2 separate regions of the Homo sapiens genome follow, and region 2 is linked to region 1. The links are contacts of gene promoters, found by promoter capture Hi-C in human tissues and cell types (Jung and others, 2019). All regions are on one chromosome and are shown on one strand. Each heading gives the region's core, a stretch centred on a gene start or on the middle of the fragment in contact. The rest is flanking DNA. Distances are from core to core; before and after follow the strand shown.

Region 1 (5,910 bases), core at 2,142-4,641:
TATTGTTCATCTACTAAACTCCCAATCATCCTTTATAACTTTGGTGAAGCCTGCTCTGACCTTGCCCACCAGCTCCTGAAGAGTTGGTCACTCTTACCACTTGACCTTGGACCCCTTCTATCATTGCATATACATTGCATTTGGCCACCTTATAATCTATGTTCTCTAAACTTGGATATATGTTTCTCTGGGGGATATATAGCACTATGTAAATATTATAATAATTTAATTCTGTGATTTAAAATATTTTTATGTTGAAACAATCAGCCATATTATGAAATAGGATCCCAATAATAAAAGAGTTTTTAGGGCCGGGCGCGGTGGCTCATGCCTGTAATCCCAGCACTTTGGGAGGCTGAGGTGGGTGGATCATTTGAGGTCAGGAGTTCAAGACCACCCTGACCAACATGGTGAAATCCTGTCTCTACTAAAAATACAAAAAAACTTAGCTGGGTGTGGTGGTGCATGCCTGTAGTCCCAGCTACTTGGGAGGCTGAGGCAGGAGAATCACTTGAACCTGGGAGGCAGAGGTAGCAGTGAGCTGAGATCGCACCACTGCACTCCAGCCTGAGTCACAGAGAGAGACTCTGTCTCAAAAACAAGAAAGAAAAGTTTTTAGAATGAAATAGGACATATGAAAATAATGACAGCTAGTATTTATTAAAAATGTACTATCTCCCAGACAGTGTGTTAAATGCTTTACATCATCTTGAATACTTTGCAAGCAGCAGGCTTTTGAGTTCTTCCCAATGCCCCTAGGGATGAGAGTCCTAGTTCTCCTAATGTTTTCGGCATTTGGGAAAAGTGGGAGAAGGGTTGTTTACTTGAGCTCTGCATTTCCAGAACCCAGTAGCTAGCCTGTGCAAAGGTGAACCTCAGTAAAGGCTTGTGGAAAGAATAGATCCTGCTCTCTGCTGGAATGTCCTTTCCTCCCTCTCTCCTGACTTGGTGAACTCTTATTGGCCCTTCAATACCCTGTTTCAATGTCACCTCCACTGTGAAATCTGACTCTCAACTATTTTCTCTGGCTCCCACTGCCTTTGGGCTTCCCTCAGACCCAGCAGTGAGTAACTGGATGATCACTCTTCGTTTGTTTTTGATATGGGGTCTCAGTCTGTTGCCCAAGCTGGAGTACAGTGGCATGATCTTGACTCACTGCAGCCTCAACCTCCCCAGGCTCAGGTAATCCTCCCACCTCAGCCTCCTCAGTAGCTGGGACTATAGGTGAAAACGACATGCTGGGCTAATTTTTGTATTTTTGTAGAGACAAGGTTTTGCCATGTTGCCCAGGCTGGTCCCAAATTCTTGGGCTCAAGCAAGAATTGTGATAATGTGTTATGGCAGCCTCAGAAAACTAATACAGCTTAGAAACAGAAATGTGTTTTCTGTGAAATTCCCCCAGATCTTGGCACCACATGAGTTCAATCAGATAATATTTGGGATTTCCCAGTGACTCCTTTCTCAACAAACACCTGATCAAGCGACTCCTTTCTCAACAAACACCTGACCACACGCCCCAGGCTCCAGCCATGAGGAACCACTCAGTGTGTCAGAACAGGAGACAGTGTGACATCTTTGTGATCCAGCTCTGAGAAAAGATCCAAGGTGTTTTTCAGGCTTCTGAACACCCTGGAAAGATAGTATGCTTACATTTTGTTTAAAAAATTTAAAATGCAACTACTATATGCCAGGTCCTGTGTGGGCACTTTACATATGTTGATTTACTTTAATCCCTACAGCAATCCTATTACTATTTTAAAGCTGAGAGAGGGGAAGTGACTTGCCTTGGGATACATAGCTCAAAGGTGGTAGAGCCAAGATTCCAAAGTGCCTGATTCCTATTGTGTCTGACTCTAAAACACTATGTTCTTTCTGCTATGTTCATCCAGGTGGTGGAAAAATTCAGTCTAGGAGTAAAAAAAGGAAGATCAACATCCTGCAGAATGACTCATGCTATTCATTATAGAAGCAATTGCTGGAGATGCTATCATTGTGGATCACGGAAGTCTTCATGGAAGAGGTGGCATTTGAGCTGGGCCTTCACTGCAAAAAAAAAAAAAAAAAATTTCCTGATTCTCTGTCAGGCACTGGGGATCCAGAGATGAATCAGACAAAGTCCTTTTGCTTGAAGAATTCACAGTATTTTGTGTGTGTGTGGGAAGGAGGGTGGCTGCTTACATGTGTTAAAAGACAATGTGGCCAGGCCTGGTGGCTCATGCCTGTAATCCCAACACTTTGGGAGCCCGAGACTGGAGGATCGCTTGAGCCTGGGAGTTTGAGACTAGTCTGGGAAATATGGCCAGAACCCCATCTTTACAAAAAAATTTTAAAATTAGCTGGGCCTGGTGGCATGTGCCTGTATTCCCAGCTACTTAGGAGGGTGAGGTGGGAGGATCACTTGAGCCCAGGAGGTCGAGGCTGCAATGAGCCGTGATTTTGCCACTGCACTCCAGCCCGGGCGAAAGAATGAGGCACTGTTAAAAAAAATTAATAGAATAATCCAGACCCACGGTAGGGTCAAAATTCCTAACTCAAGGTCCCAGAGAGGCTCAGAGAAGCCTTTTGGAAGAAGGGACTCCTGCCCCAGCTAAGACTGATGGATAAGTAGCAAAGGCTTTCTGGGGACACAGCACAAACAGCCCACCTGAAGCGGTGAATCGGCGTCCTGGGTGCCTGGCACACCTTGTAGCTCAGCTTACTAGCTAGTGGAGTGCGAAGGGGCGTGTACTTGTCGGTTGGAGCTGGTCATGAAAGAGCTCGTGGGACTGCCCGACGGTTCTCAGGTCCCAGTGCATCCTGCGTGGTGGCTCTCTGCTGAACCATAAAGCATTCCTTTTCAATCCCTGCACGCTCACGCCGGGAAAAGACTGCACAAGGGGCCTGCCAAGGCAGACAAGCGATCGCCACCCAGCTGGCTTCCGAGGGTCCCCGCCCTCCACCGGAGGCCTGTTACCACGGCAACCAGTGAGGGCGGAAGTGGCTCAGAAGACCGGTTCTCCCTAATCAGGTGACTCTCCCGCCTCCTGCACGTGACACCGGAGCCCAGAAGCGCGCTCTACCTAATCAAGACCCCACCCCTCTTTCCCTTTACTGACAATTGACAGCGACCTCTTGCAATGGCCCTTCCGCCTCCACCAGGAGACTCTGCCCGTTGGTAGTAAAAGAACCAATTAGACTGGGAAAAAAAGAAGCAACGCCCCAGGTTTCACCCCGGCTTGACAGACGCAATTGAGGCCATCCTTGAGTCCCTCCGCCCCCAAGTCCAGTAATGCCAGCGATGGACAGACCTTCTACCCAATAGCACGCCCCTTTTCTGCCGTTGGGTCCCGCCCCCTTGAGGGCTAAGCCAATGAGCGCTCCGGGTCTCAGCGGGGTGGAGGGGTTGCACTGCGGTAATATGGCTCTTCCTTAGCCAGCGGCGGCAACGGCGGCAGCGGCGGCAGCGGCGGCGGCTACTGTCTGGGCTGAGCAGTAGTGCCTCTCGGGTGGCGGGTTTCTAGGCTGCAGGGGCTTGGTAGGTGGTGGCAAGGGGGCGGCGGCGGATGCCGGAAGAGTGCCCGCCCCGCCGCTTGGCGGCCCCTGGATCGAGATGAGCGCCTCCGCGTCGGTCGGGGGCCCCGTCCCCCAGCCACCCCCGGGCCCGGCCGCTGCTCTGCCTCCCGGTTCTGCCGCGCGGGCCCTGCATGTGGAGCTGCCGTCTCAGCAGGTAAGCCCGCGCGGCTCGCAGCACTCGGGAGGGACCCGGGCAGGCCCGCGTGGAGAGCTTGCTGGCTCCGGGCTGACCCCGCGAGCCGGGACACCCAGAGCAGGGACCCGGAGGGCTCGCGGGACTGAGGAAGACTGTCAGGAGGTTTGTGCGGGGAGGGGTCCAGTGATGGCCGAACCTCCGGGAGATCCCGGAGTCCTAGGAGAATCCCGTTACAGGAGATGGGCTTGTTAAGGGACAAGCAGCCAGCCAGCTCAAGTCCCTGGGGCCCCGGCCCGAGGCCGCCTCCCCCAACGCAGGGAGCCGGGGATTGCCCCGCGCAGACCCTCTCCCTCGTTCCGCCCAGGAAGGGACCCGGGGAACCCCCTGTGTCCCACGGGCCATAGTGAAAGCACTTTTCCTTTCTTTCCCCACCTGGCCATCCCCGCTTACGGAGAAACCAGTTTGTACTCTTCGTGCAAGAGCCCTGGAGGAGACTTTAGGGTGTCTACCATTTGCTTTAATCTCCCCTGATTATTAAGTATTCGGCCTCTTTAGAGAAATGTATTCAAGACTTGGGGGTTTCCTTCCTAATTCTCCGAGTCCCAAGGAACGCATCTTAATAATTAGGAGGACTTTTTCCTTCTTCATTCCCTTCAGTGAGTCTCTGTGGAAGGAGGATTTGATGTATATATTCATGTGTTCCTCCATCCTTTAGGAAGGGCTTTGAGGACTTCTTGGCTCTGCGTTGTAGGAAGATAAGAAGGGGGAAACACTGACTTTGGAGATGTGACAAAACTCTTTGTTTCACTCACATATCTGTAGAGTACTTCCCTCCTTATATCGGTTGCCTTCCTTCTGTCCCCCAAGGGGAGATTTTGCAGGAATCTTAGCATTAAAGAGACCTAAAGAATACCTTTCACCCTCTCCCTTTATTCCTCCTGCCAAGAAGAGGATCTAGAGAAACTGTCATTTACTGAGAACTTACCGTGTTGGATTTGTGCAAAGGGCTCAGTGGCCATTAGTTCACTGAATTTTCACAACTCTGTGAGATAGCTGTTTTTATTACCCCCATTTGGCAGTTGAGGAAACTGAGGCTTGTCCAGAGCCTTCCAGTTAGTAAGTGGTGGGGCTGGGTTGCAGAATCCAGTGTCTGACTCTGCAGCCATGCACGTGCTTGAGACTTGGGCAGCCTTCCTCCACCACCTTTACACAGGACAGAGTGAGTTCTTTCATACACCCCTCCAACTTTCCATCAGCTACCAGTGGGACTTAGGAAGGATTCAGAAAGAGGAAGGGAGAGGTTGTAGGGGAGAGAGTGGTTGAAAAGTGAAATGGATTTGAGTGCAGTAAAGGAGGCGGGGGCTAAAGGGAAGAGAAGAGTTGGAGATAATAACCACTGTGGTTGCCTTTGAATAGGCAGGCAGAAGAGCTTACAGTAGCAACGGCTTTTTGTGTGACTACTACCGAAGAGGATTGAAAAGATACCATGTGCCCTGGTTTTGTGATGCTGTTGGCAGGGAATTTCTGAATAGTGGGAGTTTGAGGGTAGTGGGGGTTTGGATTGTGTTGTGAGATACAGGGAGAGGGTAGAAGTCTGGCTAGGGAGGGAGACACGTCTCTGGAGTGAGCATTAATGTGAGTTTTTGTATGTGTGGGAGGTAGAGTGTGAGAGTGGTTACTGGGAGAGGGAATAGGGAGCACCGTTAGAAACACCCTGGAGAAGTCCTAAGGAGTTCAGGGGCCAAGAAGGTTTTAGTTTGGGGGAGCTTCGAGAGTGTGTGGGATTAGGAAAGAGAAAGCATCATTTACTTCATGGAGCCTATTCTCTGATAACAGTTCACAGTTTAACACTGGGAAAACTAATGCAAACAAACTGTTGATGGAATAATTTCAGCCTCATTTGTTAGTGTTTGTGAAATTTTTGGATTGGTGCCGAGGGATATATAGTGGCTTAAGTGTACAGCTGAATGCTATATGAGTGCCGAGTATGCTATTTACATCTTTCTGGGGGTGTCAACCTTGAATTCTTGGAAGGCAGCCTATATAACAAAGCACTTTTACTTTTGCAGTTGACATCAATTTATCTTTTGGGGTCAAAATGCTCAGATTTTTAGTGTATAAATAATATCAATAAAATTTTGTTGAAGTTTTATCTGTATATAGTAAAGTACACAGATTATCAGTATTCAGTGGATGAATTGTCACCAAGGGAACAGTTATGT
Region 2 (5,910 bases), core at 445-2,944, 300 kb after region 1:
CATTTGTACACAGACATACATTTTATAAAGTCTATAAACTTTCTTCATGTGTAATATGTCATTTGAAAAACACATTTTTGCAGAGCTGTGTTGTCCACTTACTGTGTGTTTGATGTGTGGATGAGCATGTGTGAGAATATGCACATCCACTTACTTCGGCTCTCCTTTATGGTCAGTTACGGAAGCAAATGGTGATACTCAGAGACACAGTGAAAGGAAGTGAAGAACAGACCGATGAAAACCATTAGCAACTTATCCAGAGTACTCAGAAGGACACTTAATTTTAGAAAATTGGCCTCTACCAGAAATAAATCAAACAAAGGGCAGATCTAGCCCACAAACCAGCAGTTTCCCTGTACCACCTCTCCAGCTATGTGCTCTGGTCTGGACAAAGAGGAACGTTAGAGACTCAAGAGAAATACAGAGCACAGCCTCTGTCAAAAGTGAGTTGCAATGTATTTGTTTAATAAGCATTGAATAAGTACCAGCACTATGCCAGACACTATTGGAGTCAGAGATGAATACAAGATGGTCCTTACCCTTGTTTATACAAAGGGGAGGGCTGAATGGAAGCTGGCAATATCTAAAAAGAAACACTGGTTTTCTGGTATATGTCCCTGGAGTTGGTGTTAGCAAACCCTACCAGGGTCTGGGGGTAGAAAAGAAGGCTAGATACAGGGGTCTTTGAAATATCCTCATTCCACAGTTGGTCACTCTTAGTCTTCTCTAAGTTTAGGGGGCAAGAGAACAGTAAGTAGATGAAGAGGCTACCTTAAATACCATCGTAATTTAAGTGGGTGTGCATACTCATACACGTGCTTATCTATATGTCAAATACCCAGTAAGTGGAAAGTACTGTGAGGCTGATAATAGTATCAAACATTTACATTTCCTCTTTTAGAGTTCAAAAAAATAACTTGTTTAGTGGTTCATTTTTCCGAAGCTTATAATCTGCCAAAATATCTTTAATTCTATTTTTTCACCTTCACAGCTAAGATATCAACATGGACTAGGGACTCCAGACTTGCGGCAAACCCTTCCCAACCTGAAAAACTTCATGGAGCATGGACTAATGGTCAGGTGGTGAGTACCTTTATCTCTGATAACCAGAAACTGTAATGTGGATAGGATCCTGAAAATCTTTTCTGACTTCCACATTGCTCCACACCTGCCTCTGAGTTTTCTTCTGTAATGAGATATGGGAGGAAAATGAAAGGCGCCATCACAGTTGGGGAGATCTAAGCTCCCGTCTGGCTAAGGAGGATGTAGCCCCCTTGGAGGGAGGAGGGGCCAAGGGGATATTGCTTGAACTTTGGGAAGGTGGCTGAGCAAGGAGCCCTTGAGGGCATTGCTGAGACAAACTGGAAGACAGCCAGTATGATTCATGGTAAGGGAGACCCAGAGCCCCTTGGACCTTTCCAAAGAACAGGTGAAGGGCCTGATTATAGAATGAGCATCAGGACCATGGCTGTGAGCATTAAAGGAAGAAAGCAGATAAGGAATAGGTCAGGGGGTCAGGACTTAGTTTGAGACCAGTAGGTACATTCTGAAATGTTTCTTGTGTGTGGTGTCAGTACCTGTTGAACCGTGAGGGCAAGCTGCTGCTGAAAGTGCTCCGTCAGGATAGACATGGACCTTTGAAAAGAGAAGGAGAGAGGGGAAGTCTGATAGAAAGAAGACATTAGATTCATTCACTTGACCTAAATGGAAAGTTGTTGGCTGTATCCATTTAGTAATTCTTGAAGTTTGAATCCTTGGGTAGTGGGCAGTAACTTACAAAATCACGTGCCTGGAAAGCAGGCCTGTAGAGTTAGACAGCTGGGGGCAGCACTGGCTTCTGATTCCAGGTATTTTTCTCATCATCTGCTGTGTGGATTTGAAATTCTACCTCTCTGAAATTTGATTTGCTCTGCTGATGTGCCTTCAGAAAAGTAAAAAAACTGTGGTTGGTCTTTACTTTGATTTTCAAAACGGCAAGTTCCAGATGTCTGGTCTTAGATAGGACTCCTGTTAAGCAAATACACAACTGTTTAAAGAATTCCACTCAAAACATCAAAATAATTATTAAAGCTTGGTGTTGATATGGACCCGGATGCCTTCAGGAATATGAGAGAGGAATTAAGTTTTAAAGTAAAGTAATAAGAATAATAAAAGTGAGCTAGCAGGTATTTATTTAGCTTGTCTCTGTGTAAAGCTCTGTGATAGGTGCTTTAGAGAGATGAGAAAGCTCAAGCCCTGTCCCCAAGAGATTTGTGGTCCAGTTGGAAACAAGGCACAGAATTCATGAAGAGGTTTTCTAACACAATGGTAAATAACCTAAAATAATGAGAAAATTGGCAACCTACAACACTAATTAATCACACTAAATGAATCTTGCTCAGTACAGATAGCAGATTGTCCCTGAACCATTTACTGAAGTGTCTGTCTTTTCTCCACTGATGATAATGGCATCTCTTTTGTAAACCAAGTTCGCTTATCCATAGAGATCCATTTCCAGGATCCCTATTCTGTTCTGTTGCTTTATTTGGCTAGCCATCGATTAGTATGACATTTTTAATTATTGTAAGATGTAATTTCTAAAAGTGTTGTTGAGATTTGAGAATGAAATAAAAATCAAAATGTCCATTTTACTATTGATAAAGCTACTTGGAAAATGGGGCTTTAGATCTGAAATAAAACGGGCTTGCAAAGATGTCACTCAAAATTGAACTTATCCTCATAATCACAATGTAAACTGGAGAGCCATAGGCTTTCCCTACAGAGGCAGGCCCTTAACTACATTGGCAGACAGCGATCAGGTGACTTTTCTTCAGGAGCCCAGATAGGGCTGAGCCAAGAATACCCAGTTGCTATTTTGCCCTCTAGATTCACCAATCAGGAAAGTCCCTCCTCCTCTGAGAGAGTGAGAGGATGGAGAGAGCCAAGAGTGTTAACTCCTAAAGCCATGTTCCTTCATAGGAACAGAAAAGGAAAATACCTCCAATTTTCTTGATATCTGTTAGGGAAAAGCTAACCTCCATATCTGTTAGGGAAATATCTGTTAGGGAAGGCTCTTCTTCAAAACTCTTGGCTTTTCTTGACTTGAGTCTTTGAGTGATTTCACAGTTTTATGACATTGGGTCTTCCTAACTATGAACATGTTACATCGCTTGCTTTTTTAAAACATACCTCCATGAGGTTTATAATTTTCTTCATAAAAGTCTATGCATCTTTTATTAGATATACTTAGTCCTATTAGCTTACAGTTTTGGTTGCTGTTGTAAATTTTTTTATTATAATAGTTAACATTTTCTGGCTGATGTACAGGAATAGCACTGATTTTTAGTATTTTGAGAGTGTGTTCTGGCTAACATTAGTTACAATAGTTTGTTTCGATTCTCTTGGATTTTTTGTGTATACAATCATATTTTTAGTGAATAATGGTATTGTTTCTATTTTTATAACTTCGTTACTTTTTCTTGTCTTACTATGTTTTATTACAGAACAGGAGCAGTGATAGTGGGTATCCTTGTCTTCTGACTTCAAAGAGAATGCTTCTAATTTTTCACCATTAAGTATTATATTTATTGTAGATTGGGGTAGATATCCTGCATTAGCAGAAGGAAGAATTTTTCTGTTCTCAGGTTACTAAGAGTTGTTTTTTAATCATGAATATGTGTATTTTGAATTTTACCATGTTTATTCTGAATCTGTTGAGGTAACACTACATTTTTCTAATGTTAAACCATCTTTGCCCCCTGGTCATGTGTATTATTTTTTCCTACATTATTGGATTCCTTGGCTAATATTTTAGAATGTCTCCATCTGCAAACTGAAATGAGACTGGCCTACAGTTTTTCTTTCACATAAAATCCTTGTCTGATTTTGGTTAGAATTGAGCAAACATGATGAGGTTATAAGAGCTTCATAAAATAAATTGAGGATCTTTACCTTCTTTTCTATTCTCCAGAACAGTTCATATAAGATAGGAGGAAGTATCTCTATCTTAAAGGTATGGTAGAACCTAGAAAAAAACTACTGTTTTTTGTTTGTTGCTGGGGAGAGTGTAGATTTTTAACTACTGATTTAATTTCTGTAATGCTTACAGGTCTGTTTCTGTTTCATTTCTCCAATTCCTAGTTAACTCACTCCAGTCTGATTTTTAGTTCTATGAGTATACTGAAATTCCTTTTATCTAGCTTGGTGCCTACCGAATTCTAAACATAGACCCAAACTCAAAGGTCACTTTTCATCCTTATCCTGTTCAGTGGCACCTGGCCTTGCTGGCCATTCCTGCCTTCCTGAAACACTCTTCCTTGTTATCTTCCACAGGACTGCCCTCTCCTGGCTTTCTGCTTCTAGCTTCTCCATGGCCCCATCTTAGGCCCTCTTCCCTTTTTCTCTCTGTACTCTCTTCTCTTTTTTTCTTTCCTCCTCCGCCTCCTCTCTACCCTCTTCTTAAGTGTTCTCACCCATTCCCATCATTTTGAAAGCTGTTATGCTTATGACTCCCAAAGTTTTGTCTTCAGTGTAAACCTCTCCTGCACACTCTGGATAGCCAGGGGCCTACTTGACTCTGCCCCTGGGAGTATTAGAAGCATCTCAGCCTCAACACAGCTAAAACCCTCCTTCCACCAGCATAATTCCTGTCAGCTAATGGGACCCTGTCTACCCAGTTGCTCAAACCAGGGAATCATCCTTGATCCCCTTCTTTTCTCCACTCACATCAGAGCTAATCTTATTCATCAGCAAGCCCTGTCATCACTATCTGCAAAATACATATCAATCTGTTCACTTCCCATCTCTGCTATTGCCACTCCAGTCCAAGCCACCACCTTTTCTTACCCAAACAGCTGCACCAGTGCAATTTGTCTCCTTGTCTTGTCCTGCCTCTGTCCACTCTCCAAAGTAGCCAGGATGATCTTTCTAAATGTTGGCTAGATCTTAATCACTCTTCAGCTTCAGTGGCAAGAGTGAAATCCAAGTTTTCTTCCATAGTCTACTTGGCCTCTGCCTCATCTGATACCACTCCCTTTCCACTCTCACGTCCTGTCGCTGTACTGGCCTCTGTGTAGTCATGTGAATAAGCTCTTTCCTGTCTGAGTGGTTGCACTCACTCTTCCTCTGTGTAGAATGTGCTCTGTCTCTTCCTTCTTTCCTACCACCTTCCTCACCTCATCGCCTCATAGAGAGGGAATAGTTTAAGAAAAGCCGCTTTATGAACACAGCAGCTTTATTGGCAATGAATAGGCACCTTGGCTGGAATGCAAATTCATTTTAAGAATGGGGAGAATCTGGGCTTTGTGGTTCCTTGGCAATCCTTTTTAAGAAAAAGAATACAAAATTACAAATACAAAATTAGAGATGAAAAAGCATTTGGAATGAGAAACAAATCACAACAAATTACTGGAACCTTAGGGATTAGGTCCTTTTCTTCTGAGATGTCTGTAGACAATTTACTCAAATTATTTACATATAAATGCTTCCTCATTGCAACCTGACTGCCCTTCTACTCCTAAAACACTGTAATTTCCAGCAACTCTCAGTTCTAAGGTACGGAGAAATTAATTGACTTTCCAGGCATAATTGACCCATGAACCTGTAGCAATAAAAGTAGAATCTAGGTGTCCTGGCACTGTTGCAGCAAACCCATTAAGCTCCAAGCTCATACATTTATAAATGTAGTGCCCCTCTGTGCCAGCTGTGCCAAGCATATTAACACTGAGTGAACAGGAATGTGTCACTTTATGGTACTGTAACGTAAAATAGGCTACTAAAGTAGATGCAAAGCACTGCAAAATGAATGCTACATATCAGTTCCAAGTAAAGATCACGGCAGGAAGCCAGGCTGGAAGTCACAAAGCTAAACAAAGCCGGAGCAAGCACTTTGAGTCTCAGAGGAAATCTGAGAATTTCCGAGAGCAGCCGTGG

What was found. Contacts are between HindIII fragments. The study calls those that stand out against the background at their distance.
Region 2: a contact is called between a fragment that was not itself captured here and the fragment with the promoter of UVRAG in region 1, in 2 of the 25 tissues and cell types used here (H1 embryonic stem cells and hippocampus).

What each region holds. Positions count from the first base shown.
Region 1 is chr11:75,811,819-75,817,728 of GRCh38, forward strand. UVRAG (UV radiation resistance associated) reads left to right here and starts at 3,392. Exons shown (of 15, transcript NM_003369.4): 1 at 3,392-3,706. The coding sequence starts at 3,590. It overlaps UVRAG-DT (UVRAG divergent transcript), which reads right to left and starts at 2,979. Exons shown (of 2, transcript NR_144531.1): 1 at 2,645-2,979; 2 at 1,696-2,043. RefSeq lists enhancers at 1,503-2,702, 2,626-3,055, 2,926-3,220 and a silencer at 3,516-3,715. The HindIII fragment of the contact is 17,046 bases long and covers 1-5,910 here.
Region 2 is chr11:76,114,933-76,120,842 of GRCh38, forward strand. It overlaps UVRAG (UV radiation resistance associated), which reads left to right. Exons shown (of 15, transcript NM_003369.4): 14 at 992-1,083. Among named protein-coding and RNA genes, the nearest start is that of WNT11, 89 kb to the right of the region's middle. RefSeq lists an enhancer at 5,611-5,910. The HindIII fragment of the contact is 4,823 bases long and covers 1-4,106 here.